2 separate regions of the Homo sapiens genome follow, and region 2 is linked to region 1. The links are contacts of gene promoters, found by promoter capture Hi-C in human tissues and cell types (Jung and others, 2019). All regions are on one chromosome and are shown on one strand. The core of a region is centred on a gene start or on the middle of the fragment in contact, and the rest is flanking DNA. Distances in the headings are between cores, read along the strand shown.

What was found. The method cuts DNA at HindIII sites, captures the fragments that hold promoters and counts their contacts. A contact is called where the count stands out against the background at its distance.
Region 2: a fragment that was not itself captured here is called in contact with the fragment with the promoter of COMMD4 in region 1 in 3 of the 25 tissues and cell types used here (bladder, pancreas and psoas muscle).

Annotation. Positions count from the first base shown.
Region 1 is chr15:75,332,563-75,338,163 of GRCh38, reverse strand. It overlaps COMMD4 (COMM domain containing 4), which reads right to left and starts at 2,101. Exons shown (of 8, transcript NM_017828.5): 1 at 2,072-2,101; 2 at 31-102. The coding sequence starts at 2,074. RefSeq lists enhancers at 1,708-1,877, 2,218-2,267. The HindIII fragment of the contact is 27,503 bases long and covers 1-5,601 here.
Region 2 is chr15:75,461,553-75,467,153 of GRCh38, reverse strand. It overlaps PTPN9 (protein tyrosine phosphatase non-receptor type 9), which reads left to right. Exons shown (of 13, transcript NM_002833.4): 13 at 1-3,903. Among named protein-coding and RNA genes, the nearest start is that of SIN3A, 13 kb to the right of the region's middle. The HindIII fragment of the contact is 4,221 bases long and covers 196-4,416 here.

The DNA of each region.
Region 1 (5,601 bases), core at 852-3,351:
TCCACCCAGACTAGACCCTGTGCACTCAACCATCTTGGCCAGCGTGCTGATTTCTGCCAGGACCCAGTCGGGACAGTCCAGATCACCACAGAACCGGAACCTCTGCAAGGGAGGGAGGCAGGTAATCAGGCTGGAGGGAGGCCTGAGGTGTGGCCAGGATCCGTGTGTCTCCCACACTGCTGCCCACCAGGGACCCCTGGTCCCCGACATAGATGGATACCCTCTGGCCTCTTGTTCTCCCCTATCACCAGGCTGTTGAGTAAACTCTCTCCCTGACCCACCCTGCCACCAAACCCTGCTCTGAGGTCTACTCCAGGCATTCATCTGCTCAGCAAACATCAATTAAGCACCTTCTCTGTGCTAGCTCCCACTCTAAGTGCTGGGGGTACAGCATGGGATAAAACAAAGTCCTGGGCCTCACAGAGACGAGTGAACTCTCTCCCCTCTTCCCCATACCCACACAACTCCAGCCACTCCAGCTTCCCTGCTGCTGCTGGGGCACACCAGCCTTGCTCCCGCCTCCATGCCTGCTGCACTCTCTGTGTGGCTTGCTATCCTTTTTTTTTTTTTTTTGAGACAGTTTCACTCTTGTTCCCCAGGCTGGAGTGCAATGGCGCGACCTCGGCTCACTGCAACCTCCGCTTCCCAGGTTCAAGTGATTCTCCTGCCTCAGCCTCCCAAGTAGCTGGGATTACAGGCATGTGCCACCACACTCGGCTAATTTTGTATTTTTAGTAGAGACAGAGTTTCACTATGTTAGCCAGGCTGGTCTTGAACTCCTGACCTCAAGTGATCCGTCCCCCTCAGCCTCCCAAAGTGCTGGGATTACAGGCGTGAGCCACGGCGCCTGGCCAGTGGCTTGCTATCCTTTAAGTGACACATCAGACCAGCCCTTCTTTTTTTAAAAAATAAAAAAATAAGACAGAGTCTCCCTCTGTTGCCCAGGCTGGAGTGCCATGGCCATGCTGGTCTCGAACTCCTGACCTCAGGTGATCCACCCTCTTCACTCTCCCAAAGTGCTAGGATTACAGGCATGAGCCACCGCACCCAGCCAGAACAGCCTTTCTTGATTATACTTCTTAAAATAGCCCCTCACACAAGGAAATTATGGAGGCCAGTGGATACGTTCATTATCTTGATTGTGGTGATCCAAGAGCCAGGAAGATTTGTTCTCTACTTGTCCAGCCTCATCTTTCCCTAACCTGCAGATGATACTCTCCCAGCTATGGGAAATGCATCCATTCCTGGGGAGCCATACTCTCTCTAACCTGAAGTCTCTGCACATGCTGTTCCCTGTCTGAAGACACACGTCTCCCACCCTTGCCTCCCTACCCCTGGTACACAAACTGTACTTCAGCCAGCCAGCTCCTGCCATCCATCCGCCTTTAAGTTTGATGGCATCCTTAGGAAGCCCCCTTAGCACTACACACAAGGCGCAGTTAGGTCTCTGCCCCTGGAGCCTTAGCTATGACTCCAATTCAAGCCTCCGATTTCCCCTTCCCTTGGCAGCTCAAGTCCTCCCAGTGCCTAGCACACTTCATGGTATAGACCAGGCGCTTAGAACGTACGGATGGATGGATTGGATGGATGGATGGATAAGTCTCAACCCCAAAACTACTACTTTCTGGCTCTGGAAAGAGCGGAGGGGCTTCCTAACAGTGTGGAAGAGTGAGCCTGATTCTAAGCACCTTCTTGTACAAGCCCCACGGCAGGGCTGGGGAAGGGGGTATCCTTGGGAGGTCCTCTTGGGGATGGGGAAGACCTGAAAGGACTCCCAGCTCCAGACAAGCCCTAGTTCCTGCCCCGGGAGGCAGGGGCCCTTCCTTCCGCCAGGGAAGCACCGGGACTCTAAGCCGGCCGGCCTGCTCTGTCTTACCCGCCCCGTACCCCCGCCCCCGTCTCGGGAGCGGGAGAGTGGTGGACTTTTCCCTACCAGACTCACAGCCCTCACGCCCGCACACACTGTGTTTGCGGAGAGGCCAGTACAACCTCCCCCAGTTTCCGGAGCCACTTGGCGCCCCCTCATTCCCGCTCCAGCAGCCCAAGCCTCGCTTCGCCCCTAGTGCCTCACCATCGCGCCAAGAAGCCAGGGCCCGGGAATTTCTTTTTCCGGTCCCGCAGGGTCAGCTGAGTCGACGATCACGTGACTTGGACTAACTGCCTCTGGGAGGGCGGGGCCTGCTCGAGTGAGGCCGGGAGCGGACCGCAGCCCGCTGGAGGTGCAGGGGGCGAAATGCTGGCGTCTCCTCCTCCGTCTCCCAGAATCCTTCCCTGGAAAAAACTGGCGCCAACCGCCAGTTTAACTGAGGACCGAATTAAGACATTAGGAAAGACAGTGGAAGTTATTTCATTTGTTTAACTTAAGGGGGTAGGATCCCGGGAGCCAGGGTGTTTCAGGTCATTGACACGTTTTCCACTGTTAAGCGAATAGCATTATTCACAGCTGCGGGCTGTGGCAAAAGACATTTTAAAAACTATTGACGTCTACTACACATACAGAAAATTGTACCTATTATAAAGCTTAATAAGTTTTCATCAACTGTACACCTCACATAACCAGCACCCAGGTAAGGAAATAAACCAGATAACTTCTTCAAGTGCATGGGTATTTTATTTCATTTTGATGAATCATCTAGGTGCCTAGCAAAAAGGGCTGTCATAATTACTTGCTCAGGAAAACTCCCTACAGCTTCAACATCAATAGATGCTTATCTTAATTTTTGCCAGTCTGATGGGGAAGAAAAATCGGTTGCTTAGGTTGCAGTGGTAGTCTGATTACTGGTAGCTCTGAGCTAATGGGTAGTCTAGAACAACTAAGTTTCCGACATTGACTTGAAGAGGCAAAAACAAAAAGACAAAACAACAAGAAAAATACATTTGAGAATAGACTAATAACCAGAGACAAAATTGAATACAGTCGTCCTTTGGTAACCTCAGGATGTTGGTTCCAGGACCCCAGAGATACCAAAATTCACAGATACTCAAGTCCCTGATATAATATGGCATAGTATTTGCAAATAACCTGTGCACATCCTTCCGTATACTTTAAATCATCTCTAGATTACTATAATACCTAATACAACGTAAATGCTTTGTAAATAGCTGTTATAAAGTTTTTTAATTTTTTTTTTTGAGACGGAGTCTTGCTCTGTTGCCCAGGCTGGAGTGCAGTGGCGCGATCTCCACTCGCTGCCAGCTCTGCCACCCGGGTTCACGCCATTCTCCTGCCTCAGCCTCCCGAGTAGCTGGGACTACAGGCGCCCGCCACTGCACCCGACCTGTGTTTTTTTATTGTTTTACTTTTTCCAAATATTTTCGATGCACAGTTGGTTAAATCCAAGGATCCAGAACCTCAGGATACAGAGGGCTGACTGTAGTTTGAGCTCTCTCCTCAATTCCATGCCTATCCCATGCAACAGGTGCAGCTGGTTTTATTGTTGCAGGCTTTCAGGTTTTTAAAAGACAGAGCCCATGACAATTAAACTGCACTATAAAATAGAAATGTAAAGTGTCCCCAATTCATGGTAAAATTGAGCTCATTTCTGAAGAGTTCTTTTACAAATCATAACCACTAGCCTGTTGAAAACAACAGTACGTTAAGTTACTAGACTATCCTAAACCATGTCAAAAAAATTTTTTAAGAATGTTAAGACCTTTAATCATAGCACTTTGGTAGGCCAAGGCCGGTGGATCGCTTGAGCCCAGGAGTTCTAGACCAGCTTGTGCAACATAGGGAGACCCCAGTCTCTACAAAAAATTACCCGCTTGTCCTGGTGCACACGTGTTGTCCCAGCTACCTAAGAGGCTGAGGTCAGAGGATCTCTTGAGCCTGGGAGGTGGAGGCTGCAGTGAACCATGATGGCACCACTGTACTCCATCCATCCTGAGCAACAGAAGGAGACCATCTCAGAAAAATAAAATAAAATAAAAATAAATAAATAAATAAATAAATAAATAAATAAAGGCTGGGCACGGTGGCTCATGCCTGTAATCCTAGCACTTTGGGAGGCCGAGGCAGGCAGATCACCTGAGGTCAGGAGTTCGAGAGCGGTGGCCTGGCTAACATGGCAAAACCTGTCTCTACTGAAAAAAAACAAAAAAAATTAGCAGGGTGTGGTAGTGGGTGCCTGTAATCCCAGCCAGTCAGGAGGCTGAGGCATGAGAATCGCTTGAACGCGGGAGGTGGAGGCTGCAGTGAGCCGAGATTGCACCGCTGCATTTCAGTCAGCTTGGGCAACAGTGTGAGACTCCGTCTCAAAAAAAAAAAAAAAAAAAAGATGATTTGACTATTTAGAGCCGTGGTTCTCACACATTAGAGTGCATCATCATCACCTGCAGGGCTTGTGAAACCGGCTGCTGGGCCTCACACCAGAGTTTCTAACTCAATAGGACTGAGGTGGGGCCTGAGCATTGCGTGTCTATATTCCCAGGTGACATTTGAGACCATGCTTTGAAAACCACTAGTGTAGGGAAATATACTACAGAATATGTTATGAATATTCTTGAGAATATGTATATATGTTAACTTAGGGTTTCTGTCCAGTGGAAAAGATAACACCCAAAGATGGCAGTTTTATTTCCCAATATGATTTTCTTTTTTTTTTTTGAAATGGAGTCTCGCTCTGTCACCCAGGCTGGAGTGCAGTGGCGCCATCTTGGCTCACTGCAACCTCCACCTCCTGGGTTCACGCCATTCTCCTGCCTTAGCCTCCCGAGCAGCTGGGACCACAGGCGCCCGCCACCACGCCGGGCTAATTTTTTTATATTTTTAGTAGAGACGGGGTTTCACCGTGTTGGCCAGGATGGTCTCAATCTCCTGACCTCGTGATCCGCCCGCCTCGGCCTCCCAAAGTGCTGGGATTACAGGCGTGAGCCACTGCGCTCGGCCCCCCTTTTTTTTTTGAGACGGAATTTAATTCTGCCGCCCAGGCTGGAGTGCAGTGGCACAATCTCAGCTCACTACAACCTCCGCCTCCAGGGTTCAAGCGATTCTCTTGCCTCAGCCTCCTGAGTAGCTGGGACTACAGGTGACCACCACTGCACCTGGCTAATTTTGTATTTTTAGTAGAGACAGGGTTTCAACATGTTGGCCAGGCTGGTCTTGAACTCCTGACCTCAGGTCATCCGCCTGCCTTGACCTCCCAAAGTGCTGGGATTACAGGTGTGAGCCACCATGCCTGACCTCCCTATAGGATATTAACAAGTTTTGTCTCTATCTCAGAATACATTTCAGAATGCCCTTCCTGGAGCATTACAGACACTGTCTCTCAAAAAGCTCCTTGAACTTGCTTCACCATGTTGCTAACTCCCTTGTGAATTAAAGAAAATATCTTATACATATTCCTTCATTATTTGTATGAAAGTCATGCTTTTAACATTGTAAAAATTATTCTTCAGGCTGGGTGCGGTGGCTCATGCCTGTAATCTCAGCACTTCGGAAGGCCAAAGTGGCGGGATCACGTGAGGCCAGAAGTTTGACACCAGCCTGGCCAACATGGTGAAACTCCGTCTCTACTAAAAAAAAAAATCAAAATTAGCTAGGGGGTGCACACACCTGTAGTTCCAGCTACTTAGGAAGCTGAGGCACAAGAATTGCTTGAA
Region 2 (5,601 bases), core at 1,057-3,556, 130 kb before region 1:
TTTACATATAAATATACCGACATGATCAAAACCCTTTTAGCTTCATCAATTTAGCAGCCTGGGACATGAGGGAGGGGGTCCAGGAGCTGGTCTGGGAGGGATGAGGGAGGCAGGGAGGGACCCAAGCCTTCAGTATCTGAGACTTTGAGTTCTGACACTATGAGTTCACCTTGTCTGTAGGCCATGGCCCTATCTCTGGACAGAGGGACCAGCACCAGTTCAGTGCTTGAGATGTGCTAAGCACTATGCTAGGTGCTTTTCCCCCACCCTGCCTCATTCAAACCTCACAACAATTCAGTGAGATATTATCTTCTCTCCCTTCTCCTGTGCACCCCTTTCTCATTTCTATATAGATGAGGAAGGTGAGGTCCAGAGGGTTACAGTGATTTGCTCTAAAACGAGCTCAAGTTGGTCTGCTTACAAAGCCTGTGGTCTCTTCACTGCATGGAAGATGGAGATCTTGTGTTTGGAGAACAGAGGTTTGTTTAGCTCTCCTTTCAGAGTAAAAAAAGTTCTTAAATTCCAGGTTGTTGTTCTTGTGCCCATGCTTCATGTAGTAGACGCGAAGGGTGACAGGGTTGGTGACTGACTGTCCTAGCTAGGACCTCCTGATGTAGGGTCCTCATGTCTGCAGCGTACCAAAGGGGTTATCATTCTCCCCAGGAGACTCCATATCTATGGGTACATGGTCTTTGTGAGAAGATCTTGAGTCATTTGCATTTATCTCTTAGAAAGAAAGGAACCAGAAGCTTTGTACATGGAAGACCACTCCCCATATCATACCTGTTGGCTGTTGATGGCCTGCCCAGTTGGGGCAGTTGTGGCTGGGAAATATTGGGGTGTTCTTAATAATAGTCATAGCAGCCAATTTACTGGATGCTCACTCTATTCCAGGCACTGTTCAGAGTAATTTCTAGGTATCATCTCATTCACCCTCAACAACCTTTTGAGGTAGGTATTGACAGAAGAAAAAAATTGAGAGACAGGAATGTTAATTTGCTACAGCCAGGATCCCAGACCATCTGACTCCAAAGTATCTTCTTTCACCTCTTACACTAGACTTCCTCTAAGGATCCATCTTCTGATCTGCCAATAAATTTTTATCGAGTTTCTTACCATAATCAGGAGCTCAAGTGTAGAGCAGAAGATTAATCTAGTTCCTTCTCCAGATGAGCCTCCATTCTCTTGGGAGTGCACAAACATAAGAAGTGAACAGAGATTCTTGGAAATCTGAGAAACCAGAGAGGTCAGGGGTTTGGTGGAACATGTAAGAAATGGGATTAATGATAAACGGCCTGGAGGAGGTAACTTTAAATTGTCATTTATTTGAAGAGGCTGTAACCCGACTGCCCTGTGAATTTAAGGTTATGCATGAGTTCCTCATTGCATATCTGAAGACTGGTGAGGTTATCTATCACTTCAGCTCCATAAAATGCTGATTTCTGGGCCCATCCAGTAGGTTGTTAGTGAGTGACAGGATTATCCAGGTTTGGGAACCATAGATTTAGTTCATGTTTCTGACCCTATAGAGAGTTAACAAATTGATGTCTCCTAAATTTTCAGTAAAACTCAGAGGAACTCCTCCCACTGCCATTGTTTGTAGCTTTTACCAGCGTGAACCTACCTGTGTTAGGTGTTAAAGGAGGAGGTAAAGGAAAGGGAAGGCAGAGACGCAACCCAGAATCTGTTTGGCAAGTCAGGGTTCTCATACAGGAGACTTAGTGAACAAAGCAAGAGAAAATGCTCAGGGTCCAAGTGCAGTGGCTTTATGCCTGTAATCCCAGTACTTTGGAAGGCCGAGGTGGGCAGATCACCTGAGGTCAGGAGTTTGAGACCAGCCTGACCAATATGATGAAACCCCATCTCTACTAAAAATATAAAAATTACCCGGGTGTGGTGGTATGTGCTTGTAATCCCAGCTACTCGGGAGGCTGAAATGGGAGAATCACTTGAATCTGGGAGGCAGAGGTTGCAATGAGCCGAGATCGCGCCATTGCACTCTAGCCTGGGCAACAAGAGTAAAACTCCATCTCAAAAAAAATAAATAAATAAAAAAGAAAGACAGTGTTCAGGAAAGAAGAAAACACTGAGCTAAAGCAGGCTTCTGCTTCTGATTTGATGGCTGTTTGTTTCACCTTTCTCTAACATTCCCATGCTATATAATTTTTCAAACATGAGATAATCCCTGTGTCCTTTTTCCCATTGCTCCCTTCATCTTGCCCATCCTCATTGGCTAGGATGGGACTCCTGAGACGAAGGGTGCCCCAGCATCCTCAGCCTCGGAGGCCCACCCTTATCAGTCTTCATGTGACAGTATGCAGGTAAATGACAGAGTAGGACTTGTTCTTGGGAGAATGGACTATTTAGCATCATAGCCCTAGGGAAATTTGGTTCCTTCCCTGAAAGGAATGCTTCCTGTCTCTTGGGACAGACAGACACACATACAAAAACTTTTATAAATCAGAGACCTAGAGGGAATTGGGCCAAGAGGCATTGGCCAAGTAGAAAAGCTTCTCTAGAGTGACCCAGCTCTTTTGTGGTTTTGAGGTCTTACCACTGAACCAAACCCAAGTCCTAGGTTCCCTCTGTAAAAGAAGGGGCTACACTAGATGATCCTACCATGGGTCCTCTGACTGTCAGGGTCCAGTTCTTTGTTAGACAGTGCAAACACCCATAGAGGAGCTATTAGGCCTTTACTTGGGTTGAGTTGGCTCCCACTAGCACTCCCCACTTTTCATTTTTTTTACTTTCAGAGACAGAGTCTCACTCTGTTGCCTAGGTTAGAGGGGAGTGGCATGATCATGGCTCACTGCAGTCTCAACAACTGGGCTCAAGCAGGAACCCAGCTTTTTTTTTTTTTCTCTCTCTCTCTCTAGAGACAGGATCTCACTATGTTGCCCAGGCTGGTCTCGAACTCCAGCCTCAAGCAATCCTCCTGCCTCGGCCTCCCAAAGTGAGAGGATTACAGGCATGGGCCACCACACCCAGCCTCTCCAGTTTTAGTGTGTTTTCAGAGTCTCTTCTTTCAAGCTGCTGCTACTTCCCTAGCTTCCCTCAGTTCTCTTCCCCCTTGGCCTTCCAATTGGAGGAAAAGCAGGTCAGGTCTCTGTCATCTCCAAGACCAGCCTATAGGCCTTTAAAGTTTCCCTGTTTCTTAATGTGGGGTCTACAGGGTTTCTCAGAGGCAAAGCATGAACAGACCAAGGGTCCTATAGCTCCCAACCTAGTCCTTAGATTTCTCTCTGGCCTTGGTTACTCCCACAAACCACTGTGAGCCTACCAAGGGCAGGAATGGAAATGCCCATCAGCCTGGGAACCATCTTTTTCTCTTAGGAGGTATCCGCCCTATAGTTACCTTTACACAACACTTGTGAATATCAAGTGTTCTAGACTGCACTGTTCATAATTGACTACAGAGAAGACTAGGATCTTCTCCACAAATAGAAATATATCACTTTTACTTGGAGATGTTTTCTTGGGGGAAAAAAAATCTAGCACCTTGAAACCTGTTACAATGTTTAAATCTCCCTTCTTTACCTTGGCTGTCATAAAATCCTCCTGTTTGAGCTAAATGTGGCCTGCTGAAGTCTTAAATGCCCATATTTTTCAGGCTAAGGCCATGGTGGACATAGCTAACTCCACTAGAATCCTAGCTGGGGGTGTTGGAAAAAACGGTACAGTGCCCCTCTCAGACTCCAGGCTCACGTCCGTCTCCCCTCCCCGCACATTATAATCTACTACTTCTCTAATGCTGCTGCGTAGTTTGTCTTAAAGCCTCAAGACTGGCCAGATGTGCACCTGAGTAAAGGTCAGCCATTTCATCTGGGGGCTCTTTCTTGACTTTTAATGAATTTTCTTCTGTGAAAAAATGTATTTTTAATAAAAAATTTTCTGTGGCCAGCATCCAGTGGAAGTCTGGAGTCTGATGTGCAGGGCAGATACTGGTCTGGAGATGTCAGTTTAGGACTTAGTTAGACAGAAGCAATGAGCCTTGAAGTGAGAATGAGGAAGGCAAGAGAGGAGATACGTTTGGATGTCACCAACATTTAGGTAATGGGCGGAGGAAGAAAAGCTGCTGAAGGATACTAATGAACAGGCAGAGGTAACTGAGCACAAAGCCAGGCTGCTTTGTCACAGGCTGCTGAGAGGTAGGTAGTGGCTGGGACGAATGAACAAGATCTGAAATGTGGGTTCATTAGAAGTCTTCGAAGGGACTATGTGGCTGTTAGGGAGGCTGCATGAGAGAGATGTGAAGGAATAGACTGCAGTGCCCAGGCTGTCCTCACTTAAACCAAAACAAGGCCCACCTTGATCTCTTACACATTAGGCTTCTGAATAAGATTTTCTTTGAACAAAGGACCTTGCTGGGTGCAGTGGCTCAGGCCTGTAATCCCAGTGCTTTGGGGGGCTAAGGTGGGAGGATCACTTGAGGCCAGGAGTTTCAGACCAACCTGAGCAACATGGCAAAACCCCGTCTCTAAAAAAATAAATAAAAATAATAAATTCTCAAATGGCAAGCTATTCTATTTTTAAAAAGCAGTAACAAAGGAACTCGTTGCTTTAAAAAAAAAAAAAAAAACGTCAGGCCAGGCGCAGTGGCTCACACCTGTAATCCCAGCACCTTGGGAGGCCAAGGCGGGTGGATCACTTGAGGTCGGGAGTTTGAGACCAGCCTGACCAACACAGAGAAACCCCATCTCTCCTAAAAATACAAAATTAGCCGGGTATGGTGGCGCAAGCCTGTAATCCTAGCTACTGGGGAGGTTGAGGCAGAAGAATCGCTTGAACCCAGGAGACGGAGGTTTCGGTGAGCGGAGATCGCGCCATTGCACTCCAGCCTGGGCAAGAAGAGCGAAACTCTGTCTCAAAAAAAAAAAAAAAAAAGCCACCAAACAACTGGTAAAGAGAAGGAAACACTTTGAAAACATAAAGCCAGGTAAACTGAGGAACATGCTGAGTGACCCAGAAGGGTAAACTAATGCTCAGCCAGGGGAAACATTTCAAGGCAGTGAGTAGCAGTCATAAAAATTCCTTCAAACATTCCGAGCCTCCCAGGAGAATGGCGTGAAACCGGGAAGCTGAGCTTGCAGTGAGCTGAGATCGCGCCACTGCACTCCAGCCTGGATGACAGAGCGAGACTCCGTCTCAAAGAAAAAAAAAAAATTCCGAGCCTCCAAGGCCACCCAGAAATCAGAAATTACGGAATATATACCATCTAAACCTGGTTGCAAGAGAAATGGAGTTTCTTCACATCATGGGATTATTTGGCCCTCTAGGCCTGCTCCAGGGCTCATTGCTCAATCGGACTTTGCATTTGAATGGCCAGGAGAAGAGGGAGGTAGGGATGAGATAAAGGAGGGGAAAAAGATATGAGAACTCTTGACTGAATGCTAGGGATACTTAATTTTTTTTTTTTTTTTTTGAGACAGAGTCTCTGTCGCCCAGGCTGGAGTGCAGTGGCATGATCTCGGATCACTGCAACCTCCGGCTCCCCGGCTCAAGTGATTCTCCTGCCTCAGCCTCCCAAGTAGCTGGGACTACAGGCGCGTGCCACCATGCCCGGCTAATTTTTTTGTATTTTTAGTAGAGACGGGGTTTCAC